3 separate regions of the Homo sapiens genome follow, and regions 1 and 2 are each linked to region 3. The links are contacts of gene promoters, found by promoter capture Hi-C in blood cells and fetal thymus (Javierre and others, 2016). All regions are on one chromosome and are shown on one strand. The core of a region is centred on a gene start or on the middle of the fragment in contact, and the rest is flanking DNA. Distances in the headings are between cores, read along the strand shown. Region 1 holds the start of CTC1 (CST telomere replication complex component 1). Region 2 holds the start of TMEM107 (transmembrane protein 107). Region 3 holds the start of EIF4A1 (eukaryotic translation initiation factor 4A1).

Region 1 (3,706 bases), core at 1-2,500, 680 kb before region 3:
AATCGTCGCGCGCGTTTGTTACGTCATCCGCGTGCGCCGCGGGCAGAGACTGGACCTGCCAGCGCCGGGGCGACTACGCCCCGCCCACTTTTCCCCAGCCACCCGGCCGAATTCTAGGTTCTTGGTGGGGAGAGGTTTATCCCCAGGTGGTTTCTCCCACAAATCTGTCTTGAACTGACGTTTGTGAAAATACATTCAGTTCCCCGTCCCCGCGGGGACAGTTAAGTAATGACATCAGTTAGTTAAGGCCATAAAGCAAGCATGTGAAAGTTGTGCTTTGGTGGCATTACGAGGAAGCCCTTCTCTGCTTGGCAAGATCAGGGAGACTGAAAGATGCTTAGAAGTCATCCACCAGGCGGGCTGTGTTTGAGTTCCTGAGCTCTGCTACCCCATCCATCTGAAGGCCTGCGGGATGCCGGACAGGATGTCACTTAGGAGGGAGACGGAGGCTGGGCGCGGTGGCTCCCGCCTGTAATCCGAGCACTTTGGGAGCCCGAGGCGGGCAGATCGCTTGAGCCCAGGAGTTCGAGACCAGTCTGGGCAACATGGCGAAACCATGTCGCTACAGAAAAATACAAAAATTAGCCGGGTGTGGCGGTGCAAGCCTGCGATCCCAGCTACTTGGTGGGCTGAGGTGGGAGGATCGCTTGAGCCCGGGAGGTCGAGGCTGCAGTGAACCGAGATGGCGCCGCTGCACTCCAGCCTGGGCGATAGAGCGAGACCTCGTCTCAAAAAAATCAGAGAGGGCCAGGGGCTGTGTTTCACGCCTGTAATCCCAGCACTTTGGGAGGCTGAGGCGGGTGGATCACCTGAGGTCAGGAGTTTGAGACCAGCCTGGCCACATGGTGAAACCCCGTCTCTACTAAAAATACAAAAAAAAAAAAAAAAAAAAAAATTAGCCGGGCGTGGTGGTGGCAGGTGCCTGTAATCCTAGCTACTCAGGAGGCTGAGGCCGGAAAATCCCTTGAACCTGGGAGGCGGGGGTTGCAGTGAGCCGAGATCGCGCCACTGCACTCCAGCCTGGGCGACAGAACCAGGCTTCGTCTTAAAAAAAAAAAAATCAGAGAAAAGAGACAGGGGTGTCGGGAGTTGGGATGGTGCACCGAGGCGCCTCGCGGAGTCTCTAGGAAGCGAGGGGGTGAGCAGCGAGAAGGAGCTGGAGGTGGCGAGGAAACCCGCTCACCGGTGACGTCACCGAGCGCCCCCCCACCCCCATCCCCACCCCCAAGCGAGCACCTGCCCCTCCCGGGGGCGGAGCTCCGGCGCATCATGGCGGCTGGCCGGGCCCAGGTCCCTTCCTCCGTGAGTGCTGCTATTACGTCTCTTGTTCCTTTTTTCTTGTTTGTCACAGATACTCTTTCTCTTCCTATTTCCTCTGCCTTGTCTCTCTGGGCTCGCTGGCCGCGTCCGGCCCATGGGTGAGGGGGTTGTGAGTCGGTCCGCTCCTACCTCTTACTGGTTCTGCGAATGTTTATTCCCTCATTCACGCGGCGCCCGCTGTGAGCCTTAAACTGGTCTCCGTTCACTCTCTAGGGTTTAATCCTGGTGGGAAACCAGGAGCAGGTTAATGGGGGAACTATGGGGCTGTGGGTTCCTGGAGAAGACCCTTGACGGAGCTGTAGGGGAAAAGGGCAACCATAATAAGTAAAAGCGTCTGAGACCCGAAGTGCGTGTAGAAGGCAAAAAGCGCCGAAAGGGGCTGGGTGTGGTGGCTCACGCTTGTAATCCAGCACTGTGGGAGGCGGAGGCGGGCGGATTACTTGAGGTCAGGAGTTCGAGACCAGCCTGACCAACATGGTGAAACCTCATCTCTACTAAAAATACAAAAATTAGCCGGGCGTGGTGGCGCGCACCTGTAATTCCAGCTACTCAGAAGGTTGAGGCAGGAGAATCGCTTGAACCGGGTAGACGGAGGCTGCAGTGAGCTGAGATTGTGCCACAGCACTCCAGCCTGGGCAACAGAGCGAGACTCTGTCAAAAAAAAAAAAAAAAAAAAAAAAGCGCCGGAAGGGGTTTCAGGACGGAAGCAAACACATATTCAAAGGCAGGAGGATAGAGCAGGTGTCTGAAAAACTCAAAAGTTCAGTTGGGTGGTGGTGGAGGGGTCAGAGCTGACAGTTTTGTACCTCTTGCTAAGCAGCGACTTTAACATGAGGGTAATTGGGTGTGGTGGCACACGCCGGTAATCCCAGCTGCTCAGGAAGCTGAGCAGGGAACCACGGAAGTGGAGGTTGCAGTGAGCCGAGATCGCGCCACTGCACTCTAGCCTGGACGACAGAGCCAGACTCCATCTCAAATAAATAAATAAATAAATAAATAAATAAATAAATAAATAAATAAGATGTTAAGAAAATACAATCTAAAGGATTGGTTTGTGTGCGTGTGTGTGTGTGTGTGTTTTGAGACGGAGTCTAGCTTTGTCACCAGGCTGGAGTGCAGTGACGCGATCTCGGCTCACTGCAACCTCTGCCTCCCAGGTTCAAGCGATTCTTCTGCCTCAGCCTCCCGAGTAGCTGGAATTACAGGCATACAGGCACGCGCCGCCATGCCCAGCTCATTTTTGTATTTTTTTTCTTTTTTTTAAGTACAGACGGTGTTTCACCATGTTAGCCAGGATGGTCTCGATCTCCTGACGTCGTGATCTGCCCGCCTTGGCCTCCGAAACTGCTGGGATTACAGGCGTGAGCCACTGCACCCAGCCAGGACTGGGACCTATGTAGGGAAAGGAAGGAGCTAAGGAGGACATCTAGGTTTCAGGATAGAACAACTGTTTGGTTAAGGGTACTATTTGCTAAGTTAGTGAACATAACACTAGAAGAGTTCTAGAAAAGGACAGGGTTTTGTGGAAAGTTCAGTGTTGGGCATGTGTGCTGCCTGTGGATTGGCCATGGAGAGTCTGGCAGATGGATAGGACTAAAGCTCAGGAATGAGATCTCAGCTAAAGTAGACATACAGGAACAATCATCATCTGGCCATGGCTGTTAAACCCATGCAGTGGTTGAGATAATTGTGGGAAAGCATATTGTGTTCTTAAACTTCAGCCTGTATTAATCTGGATCTTCCTCTTCCTCCCTCCTTTTTTTTTTTTTTTTTTTTTTTGAAACAAGGTCTTACTCTGTCACCCAGGCTAGAGTGCAGTGGCACCATCATGGCTCACTGCAGCCTCAACCTCCCTGGGCTCAAGCGATCCTCCCACCTCAGCCTCCCAAGTAGCTGGGACTACTGGCGTGTGCTACCACGCCAGGCTAACCCAGCTAATTTTGAATTGTTTTAGAGTTTCACCATGTTGCCCAGGCGGGTCTCAACCTTCCCAGGCTAAGGTGATCCTCCCACCTCAGCCTCCCAAGTAGCTGGGACTACTGGCATGTGCTACCACGCCAGGCTAATCCAGCTAATTTTGAATTGTTTTAGAGTTTCACCATGTTGCCCAGGCGGGTCTCAACCTTCCCAGGCTCAGGTGATCCTCCCACCTCAGCCTCCCGAGTAGCTGGGACTACAGGCACGAGCCACCATGCCCAGCTAATTTTTCTTTTTTGTAGAGACGGGTCTTTGCCTTGTTGCCCAGACTAGTAGTGAACTACTGGGCTCGAGCGATCCACCTTGGCCCCCCAGAGTGCTGGGATTACAGGCGAGAGCCACCACATCCAGTCTGCTCCATTTTTACTCAGTAGATGAAAACACGAATTTGCCTTTTTAACAAAACTTA
Region 2 (3,628 bases), core at 573-3,072, 600 kb before region 3:
TCCCAGCACTTTGCAAGGCCGAGGCTGGCGGATCACGAGGGCAGGAGATCGAGACCATCCTGGCTAACACAGTGAAACTCCGTCTCTCCTAAAAACACAAAAAATTAGCCGGGCATGGTGGCGAGCGCCTGTAGTCCCAGCTACTCAGGAGGCTGAGACGGGAGAATGGCGTGAACCCGGGAGGCCGAGCTTGCAGTGAGCCGAAATTGCGCCACTGCACTCCAGCCTGGGAGACAGAGCGAGACTCCGTCTCAGAAAAAGTAAATAAATAAAATAAAACAAAATAAATGCTCTATTTTAATAGAATTATAAATGCCCTATTTTTATAGAATTATAATTCTAGCGTTTCTTTTTTTTTTGGAGACGGAGTTGCGCTCTTGTTGCAGAGGCTGGAGTGCAATGGCGCGATCTCGGCTCACTGCAACCTCCACCTCCTGGGTTCAAGCGATTCCCATGCCTCAGCCTCCCGAATAGCTGGGATTACAGGCACGCGCCACCACGCCCGGCTAATTTTGTATTTTTAGTGGAGACAGGGTTTCAGCATGTTGGTCAGTCTGGTCTCGAGCTCCTGACCTCAGGTGATCCGCCCTCCTAGGCCTCCTAAAGCGCTGGGATTACAGGTGTGAGCCACAGTGCACAGCCCGCTTTTCCCTGTTTGTAGCGCCTATTATCTTACGGATTTATTTGTTTGCATGTCTGTTGTTGATCTCCCTGACTAGAATACCCTTACTAGGTAATCAATAAACATATACAAATATTTGTTGAAGGAATGAGAAATGCCTCTTGGGCTTGTAGTTTAGGCTGGCTAAAAGCACTGAGATGGGGAGTGGGGAGTAGGAAGAGATTGTTCTCCTGGGAGATGGGCCGGGAGGTTCCTTGAGGATGGGACTTGACTCAGCAATTAAAGAACTTTCAGATCTGCAGGGACCTGCGCTGAGGCCCAAAGGTCATGAGGTCGCCGATGATAAGAGCTTCTTGGACTGTAGCTGGGCAATGTCGGAGGCCCAGCACCTCCAAGGGACAAAGAAATCTGAGTTGAGTTTCCCTTCCAGCCGGCTCCAAGCCTCCCAGAGACGCAGGGACTGTCCCATTCCCTTCGTCCACTCCCACTCTTTCCAGCCACCTTGCTCTGCTCTTATCCCCATGCTAGTTTAAGGACGCTGGCCATTTTTTGCACTCTGCAAATCCCTCACCAAACTGAGCAAAGTAGTCTGAAAGAAATCAGTCTTCCTCAAGGAAGGTTCAGGCCTGGGGTCCTCAGACAACCAGGGGCTCCGTGACAATCTGTGACTGCAGAGCAGTCCAGGAACACCGGCCTCTCCAGGTTCGGGTCCCTTGTTTCTCAGGCCCAGCTTGGTGGGAAGCTAAAGGCATGCAGAGGAGGGGAAGGGGAGCGGGTCTGAGTCTTCGGCATGGCGGGGAACTCAGCCCGGCGTGGTGGTGGCAGCGGTCTCAAGTGATCCACAACTGGGCAGCGTAGCTGGGGCTGGGGGCCGCTCCCGGCGTGGGCAACAGCAGAAGCATTGGTGTCCCCAAGCTAGGCCAGGGTGGGTTTCCGTTCATCCGCCCTGCGTGGGCAGATCGGGCGCTGCGGGGCTGTGCCACCTCGCACCCTCTGAGGAACAAAGGGCCTGGCTGCGCGCGGGTACCCAGCCGTTAGGTTAGAAGCGCCTTCGGGTACCCCTGACCTTCGCTGGCCCTGAGAGACCCGCAGCAGCCGGAGAATGTACTGCTCGCGAGGATTTCCGAGAACGCGGCGCCGAGCCCGCGTACACGGTTACCAAGGCAACTGGGCGGTGCCTGAGCGGGCGGGAAGGAGGCGTTCGTCTAGATTTGTCGGCTTGCGGGGAGACTTCAGGAGTCGCTGTCTCTGAACTTCCAGCCTCAGAGACCGCCGCCCTTGTCCCCGAGGGCCATGGGCCGGGTCTCAGGGCTTGTGCCCTCTCGCTTCCTGACGCTCCTGGCGCATCTGGTGGTCGTCATCACCTTATTCTGGTCCCGGGTAAGACCCACGGCTGCACTCAATCCGTCCCCATTCCCATCTCTGAGTGGTCCTAGTCCTACCCTGCCCCCTCCCAGTGTCTTACCCTCTTGGGTTTTCTTGTTTCCCGCCGCCCCCAGGCCTGCCCTGCAGCCTGCCCCTTTTTCACTTCTCTTCCTGTGCCCTGCTCCCAGGACAGCAACATACAGGCCTGCCTGCCTCTCACGTTCACCCCCGAGGAGTATGACAAGCAGGACATTCAGTGAGCTCTTGGGACGGGGTGGCCAGAACGAAGAGGTGGTGGGAGTGGAGGGGTCTTAGAATAAGTCCAAAGGCCTGGGCCAGTCCACTTCCTCTCTGCAGGCTGGTGGCCGCGCTCTCTGTCACCCTGGGCCTCTTTGCAGTGGAGCTGGCCGGTTTCCTCTCAGGAGTCTCCATGTTCAACAGCACCCAGAGCCTCATCTGTATCCTTTCTGCCTGCCCACCTTTCCCACACGACCCACTTCTATCAGGACTCCCTTCAGCCACCTGACACAATAGTGTCTGCTGTAGCCAATCCTTCCAGTTCAAAGATCTTCAACGATGTGCTAAATCCTGCTGTTTACTAGGCACTTAAAATCCCAAAATGAGAGTAAAATACAGTTTTTGGCCAGGCATGTTGGCTCACGTCTGTAATCCCAGCACTGTGGGAGGCGCAGGCAGGAGGCAACATAGTGAGAACCCAAGTCTACAAAAATAATAGGAATAATAAAAACCCCACCGTTTCTTTTTACAATGAGGAGGAGGTAGATACAAATCTGTAATTCAGTGTGATAAGCACTGTGCTATAGAAGTGTGTGAAGATAGAAAGCACAGGCAGGGCGCGATGGCTCACGCATGTAATCCCAGCACTTTGGGAGGCCGAGGCAGGTGGACCACCTGAGGTCAGGAGTTCGAGACCGGCCTGACCAACATGGTGAAACCCCCGTCTCTACTAAAAATACAAAAATTAGTCGGGCGTGGCGGCGCACTCCTGTAATCCCAGCTACTCAGGAGACTGAGGAAGGAGAATTGCTTGAACCCGGGAGGCAGAGGTTGCAGTGAGCTGAGATCGTGCCACTGCACTCCAGCCAGGGCAACAGAGCAAGACTCTGTCAAAAAACAAACAAAAGATATAAAGCACAATGGGAACTCAGAAGAGGCAACGGAAGCGAGCACTGGGAACTCAGAAGAGGCAAAGGAGATGAGGCACATGGGTCAGAGAATTGTGGACCAGGAGGACCAGGACACTGGAGGCTGATTCCAGCGCATATTAAGTCGCTGTCAGCACTCCTTTGTGGCATAGCAGAAGGAGAGCCTACTCTTACCTCTCATCTGAAGGATCCAGGCTGGCCCACAGATAAGGGGTAGGGTAGCCTGAGGTCCGATCTGTGCAGTCACTTCTGGTCTCTCCTCACATGACTGTCCTAAAATTCAGAAGTCAGAGCTGCTGACTCTAGCCCTTGAAACATGGTGAGGGAGCAAGGGATGAACCTGAATGCAGATGCCAGCCCCACCACTGGCCTTTTCTGACCCATCACTGTCTGTCGATCCAAAGACTTTCCTTAATCTCGTGCCTTCCCAAGCCATTGGGGCTCACTGTAGTGCATCCGTGGCCCTGTCCTTCTT
Region 3 (3,643 bases), core at 588-3,087:
ATGGCTCGCTGCTGGATGGCAGAGGGCTTCTCAAAACCATACGCGTAGATGCCACGGAGAAGGGACTCCGAGAGGTTCATGTCATCAAAGCTGTCAACAATCTCATTCCAGTTACTCTAGGGGATGCAAAGAAATTAAAGCTTGAGTCATGGAAAAGGTGGAGCTGAGCTGTAGTCTCCGAGCAAACAGAATCTGGTGCCTACTAACAAAAGCCTCAGAGCTTACAACCCTCCTCCCTTTAGGGAAACCAGCTGCTTCTAGATGATCTGGGAAATCAATCAAGAGGCCACTCTAACTCTATACGGCTGAAAGTTGTAATGGGGGAGGACAGAATTCCATTTCTCCAGTCTCACCTCGATGACGCCTTCGGGCTCCATCCCATCGGGGCCATTGTCTCTGGATCTGTTGGTTTAAAGCATAAGTTTTGTCCCCTGCCCGACCGAAGCACTCAGAAATCCTGACAGCCGGGCTCTGTCAGGAGTGGCCTGCATGATGCCATCAATCTGCTGTCCCAGATCCAACTCCCACCAGCTCCCAAAAAATACCCAAAGGAGGAGTTTCTATAAAACTGAGGCATTTGCCCCATGCAGGCAGCGGCTCAGGCCAGGCCACCCCCGACATAAGGGGGTGACCCTTTCTGAAGACAGGCCGGCAGGCGTGCCGCCGCGCTCACGGTGCCCAGAGGTGGTGCTTGCCGCCGGGTCCACGTGGGCCCGACCCAGCCGCTTAAAGCCCAAGCGCGTGCACCTCCCACCGCAGCACCAGCGCGCTGGAAGTCCCGCCCTTCACCTCCCAGATCGGAGGGTAGGACATCCCCTTCCCCCCACGTCATCCCGCCCGCGCCCTCCCCCACTCCCTCCAGCCGAAGCCCCCCCCTCGCGTTGCCCGGATGTGGGAGGCCGCGGGCGGTGGCGGCCTCGCGCACAATGAGCCCAAGCCGAGCTAGCAAAGGGGGAGATTGCACAACACTTAGAAGCGAAGCAGACTGGGGGAGGGGAACGCCTCAGGCCACCATGTGCTCGCTCCCTCGACCACCCGGCGGCGTCTCCCACCCCTCCATGAACAATCCACATCCCGCCCGCCCCCGTCGCGAAGTAGCGTCGCCCTCCCATACCTCAGGCCGCTCACCCCCGAAGGAAGGTGGACCTGCCCATCCGCAGTTTGCCAATAGCCCGGCTTGTGCGGCAAAATGGACCCGCCCGCCCGGCGCCGGGTGGGCTCCTGGTGCCTCACGCGGCCGCTCCTCGGGGTTAGGCTCAGTCCTGGCCGTCAAGAAAACCAGCACACTGAACGGCCGGTTTCTTCTCCCCGACCCGTGTTTTAGCCGCGACGAAGTGACTGGATCTAAGGACCAGGCACCCCCGCCTCTCGCGAGTGGTACCGTCAGAATGCTCCGGAACCCCGCGCGCCGTCCCTCCCCCGGCACAGGGAGGCAACCGGACCTGCCGGCTCTGGGCCACACATAGTGGCGGCCGCCTCCACCTTTCTTTCCCACGCCAGGTCGCGACCCCGTCTCGCCACTCAGCGCCGGGGCTTCGCGCATGGCACCGCCTCGGGTCGAGGCCTCGTAACAGACCTCGCACGCCTGACCCTAGCCGGGCTGTCCCTACCCTCCGCCTCGACCTGGTGGCCGCGTCGGCCGTGGGTCTTCCCCCTCGCCCCTCCAAGTCGGACCCTCCCCCCACCCGGTTCGGTTTCTCCCGCAACCCTGGTGGGCCTCTCAGCTACCCCCGGCGGGCCCGTCGGAAGGGGGCGGCAAAATAAGCAGCCACAATCTCTTGCAAATGCCTTTCTTACCGGGAATCCTGGCTCGCAGACATGATCCTTAGAAACTAGGGCGGAGTGCCCGCCTATCGACAACTTATAGAGCGCCCGACTCCGCCCCGGCCATCGCATTGGTTTGGCCGCCCCGGCCCCGCCTGCCGGCGCTCAGCAACTCGGCATGACGTTAGTTCCTAGTCGCTCCGGCCCGCAGGCACCATTGGATAACTCGAGTGCCTATCAAGGTGAAGGCCCGCCCCGCAGCCTCATTGGCTGGAGGGCCCGCCTTTCTCGCCGGTACGGAAGTGACATAGAAGAGTCAGGCCTCGAGGCCTGGCAGCCATCTTGGGGCCCTGCACTCTCACACGTGCGGAGGCGACAGTGCCTTGGTCATGTGGCTCCGTAGGCCCTATCACGCAAGGGGGGCGAGGTCTCAGCCTCCAGAGGCTTCCGGGCTCTGGGGGTTATCACTTCCCTTTACTTCTGCTCCCGGTCTCCACTGGACTCAAATGTTATTTGTTTTCCCCTGTAGCAGAGATGGATTCGACACTGCCTGGACGTGTGCCAGGGATGAAGGAATCAACAGCGATATCGTAGGGATGGGAGGATTCCCCTGGCTGGATGGTGGAGGGATGGAAGAAAACTGTAAAGGGCTTTGGGGTACTATCATGAATCCTGGTTGGTCCCCTCCCCAGTCCCTTGTGTCCAGTTCCCCAGCTTCCCTCTCGGATGCCCTTATTCTTGAGGCTTATCTACTTTCCCTCCTTCCTGCTCTCTGCTCCCATCTCGGGGATTTGTTTGGGTGAAGACAAGGTGTTGGCAGTGCCTGAGCCAGGGATGGAAAGCTGAACCCTTTAGTCTCAAGAGACTGGCTGGAAGGTCTGAGCTAAGCATATCCACTAATTTGAAGCCCCTTAAGGAAGACCACCACTTACGTATCAACAAAGGATCCTTTATTGACCAGAGCAGGACCGTGGCATTTATATATTTTTATATATATATATATATATATATATATATATATATATATATATATATATATATATATATATATATATATATAAAAGTTTGAAGATCTGGCAGGCAGTGATCCTATTGTCCGCCCACCACCCCCAGCACTGATTTCCTGCTCCCTGCACGGGGAAGGGGGAGGATGACTGCTCCACCCAGGCCACAGGGCCACACTCCCCTGCAAACAGAGGAAGAAAGGGGCTTTTCTGTAGCCACCCCCTGCACATCAGAAATCAACAAGTATTCTCTCAAAGAAAAAAAAATACAGAAATTGAAACATTTAAATATGAAAAACCAAAGGGAAGTGAGTGGGAAGAGGCAAGAGAGGAAAGGAACTGGAGTTTCTTGGGAAGGGACTCCCATGTCTCCCTTCCCATTTATGGGCTTGGGGTCTGGGGTACGAGGCTCACACAGTGAGTTTGCAGTGACACAGCTCCTTGTAGATCTGCCGACGAAGTTTGGGCATGTCCTGCTGGGTGAAGCTGAATGGCTGAGACAGGGCCAGATGCTTGCAGTACTGGGTGTTAACAAAGCAAGCCATGAGAAACCCCCCGTGTCAGGACCTGTGCTACACATTTCATATGAGATGTGTCTCCATCCTTCAGAGAACATCCCCAAAGGGAGCCAGGGTCCCACAGCCTGGGGTTCAAAAACAGCCTGACTCTAAAGCTAGTGTTCTTACTTGATAGAATGTTTTAGATGGAGAAAATACACTGAGTTGGAGGTTAGCAGGGAGCTCTATGAAGGCCAGAGGCCCAAGACTAGAGACCCAGTCCCAATGTGGGATGGAGAAGTCCAGAAGAGAACCAGTGAAGCCAGTGTTTTGGTGTTCTAAAACAGATTACTTCCTGCTCCACAACTGACTATGAGC

What was found. Contacts are between HindIII fragments. The CHiCAGO score rates a contact against its expected background, and 5 or more counts as called.
Region 1: the fragment with the promoter of CTC1 here is called in contact with the fragment with the promoter of EIF4A1 in region 3 in 1 of 17 cell types (naive CD4 T cells); the score reaches 5.2 in naive CD4 T cells.
Region 2: the fragment with the promoter of TMEM107 here is called in contact with the fragment with the promoter of EIF4A1 in region 3 in 1 of 17 cell types (activated CD4 T cells); the score reaches 5.5 in activated CD4 T cells.

The regions. Positions count from the first base shown.
Region 1 is chr17:8,245,600-8,249,305 of GRCh38, reverse strand. CTC1 (CST telomere replication complex component 1) reads left to right here and starts at 1,250. Exons shown (of 23, transcript NM_025099.6): 1 at 1,250-1,302. The coding sequence starts at 1,270. PFAS (phosphoribosylformylglycinamidine synthase) reads right to left here and starts at 17. Exons shown (of 28, transcript NM_012393.3): 1 at 1-17. RefSeq lists enhancers at 1-589, 714-833, 1,314-1,453 and a silencer at 1,174-1,223. The HindIII fragment of the contact is 6,585 bases long and covers 1-3,706 here.
Region 2 is chr17:8,174,574-8,178,201 of GRCh38, reverse strand. It overlaps TMEM107 (transmembrane protein 107), which reads left to right and starts at 1,822. Exons shown (of 5, transcript NM_183065.4): 1 at 1,822-2,002; 2 at 2,176-2,243; 3 at 2,345-2,445; 4 at 3,586-3,628. The coding sequence starts at 1,916. LOC105371520 (a long non-coding RNA gene) reads right to left here. Exons shown (of 4, transcript NR_188261.1): 2 at 3,328-3,426. RefSeq lists enhancers at 1,525-1,644, 1,060-1,671, 1,825-1,874, 1,945-2,034, 2,195-2,244 and 3 more. The HindIII fragment of the contact is 13,203 bases long and covers 1-3,628 here.
Region 3 is chr17:7,571,019-7,574,661 of GRCh38, reverse strand. It overlaps EIF4A1 (eukaryotic translation initiation factor 4A1), which reads right to left and starts at 1,837. Exons shown (of 11, transcript NM_001416.4): 1 at 1,798-1,837; 2 at 354-402; 3 at 1-116. The coding sequence starts at 1,820. It overlaps SENP3 (SUMO specific peptidase 3), which reads right to left. Exons shown (of 11, transcript NM_015670.6): 11 at 2,693-3,289. The coding sequence ends at 3,179. SENP3-EIF4A1 (SENP3-EIF4A1 readthrough (NMD candidate)) reads right to left here. Exons shown (of 22, transcript NR_037926.1): 11 at 3,183-3,289; 12 at 1,798-2,378; 13 at 354-402; 14 at 1-116. RefSeq lists enhancers at 480-609, 72-827, 828-1,583, 2,090-2,159, 2,280-2,339 and 2 more and silencers at 750-889, 1,790-1,849, 1,860-1,919. The HindIII fragment of the contact is 10,998 bases long and covers 143-3,643 here.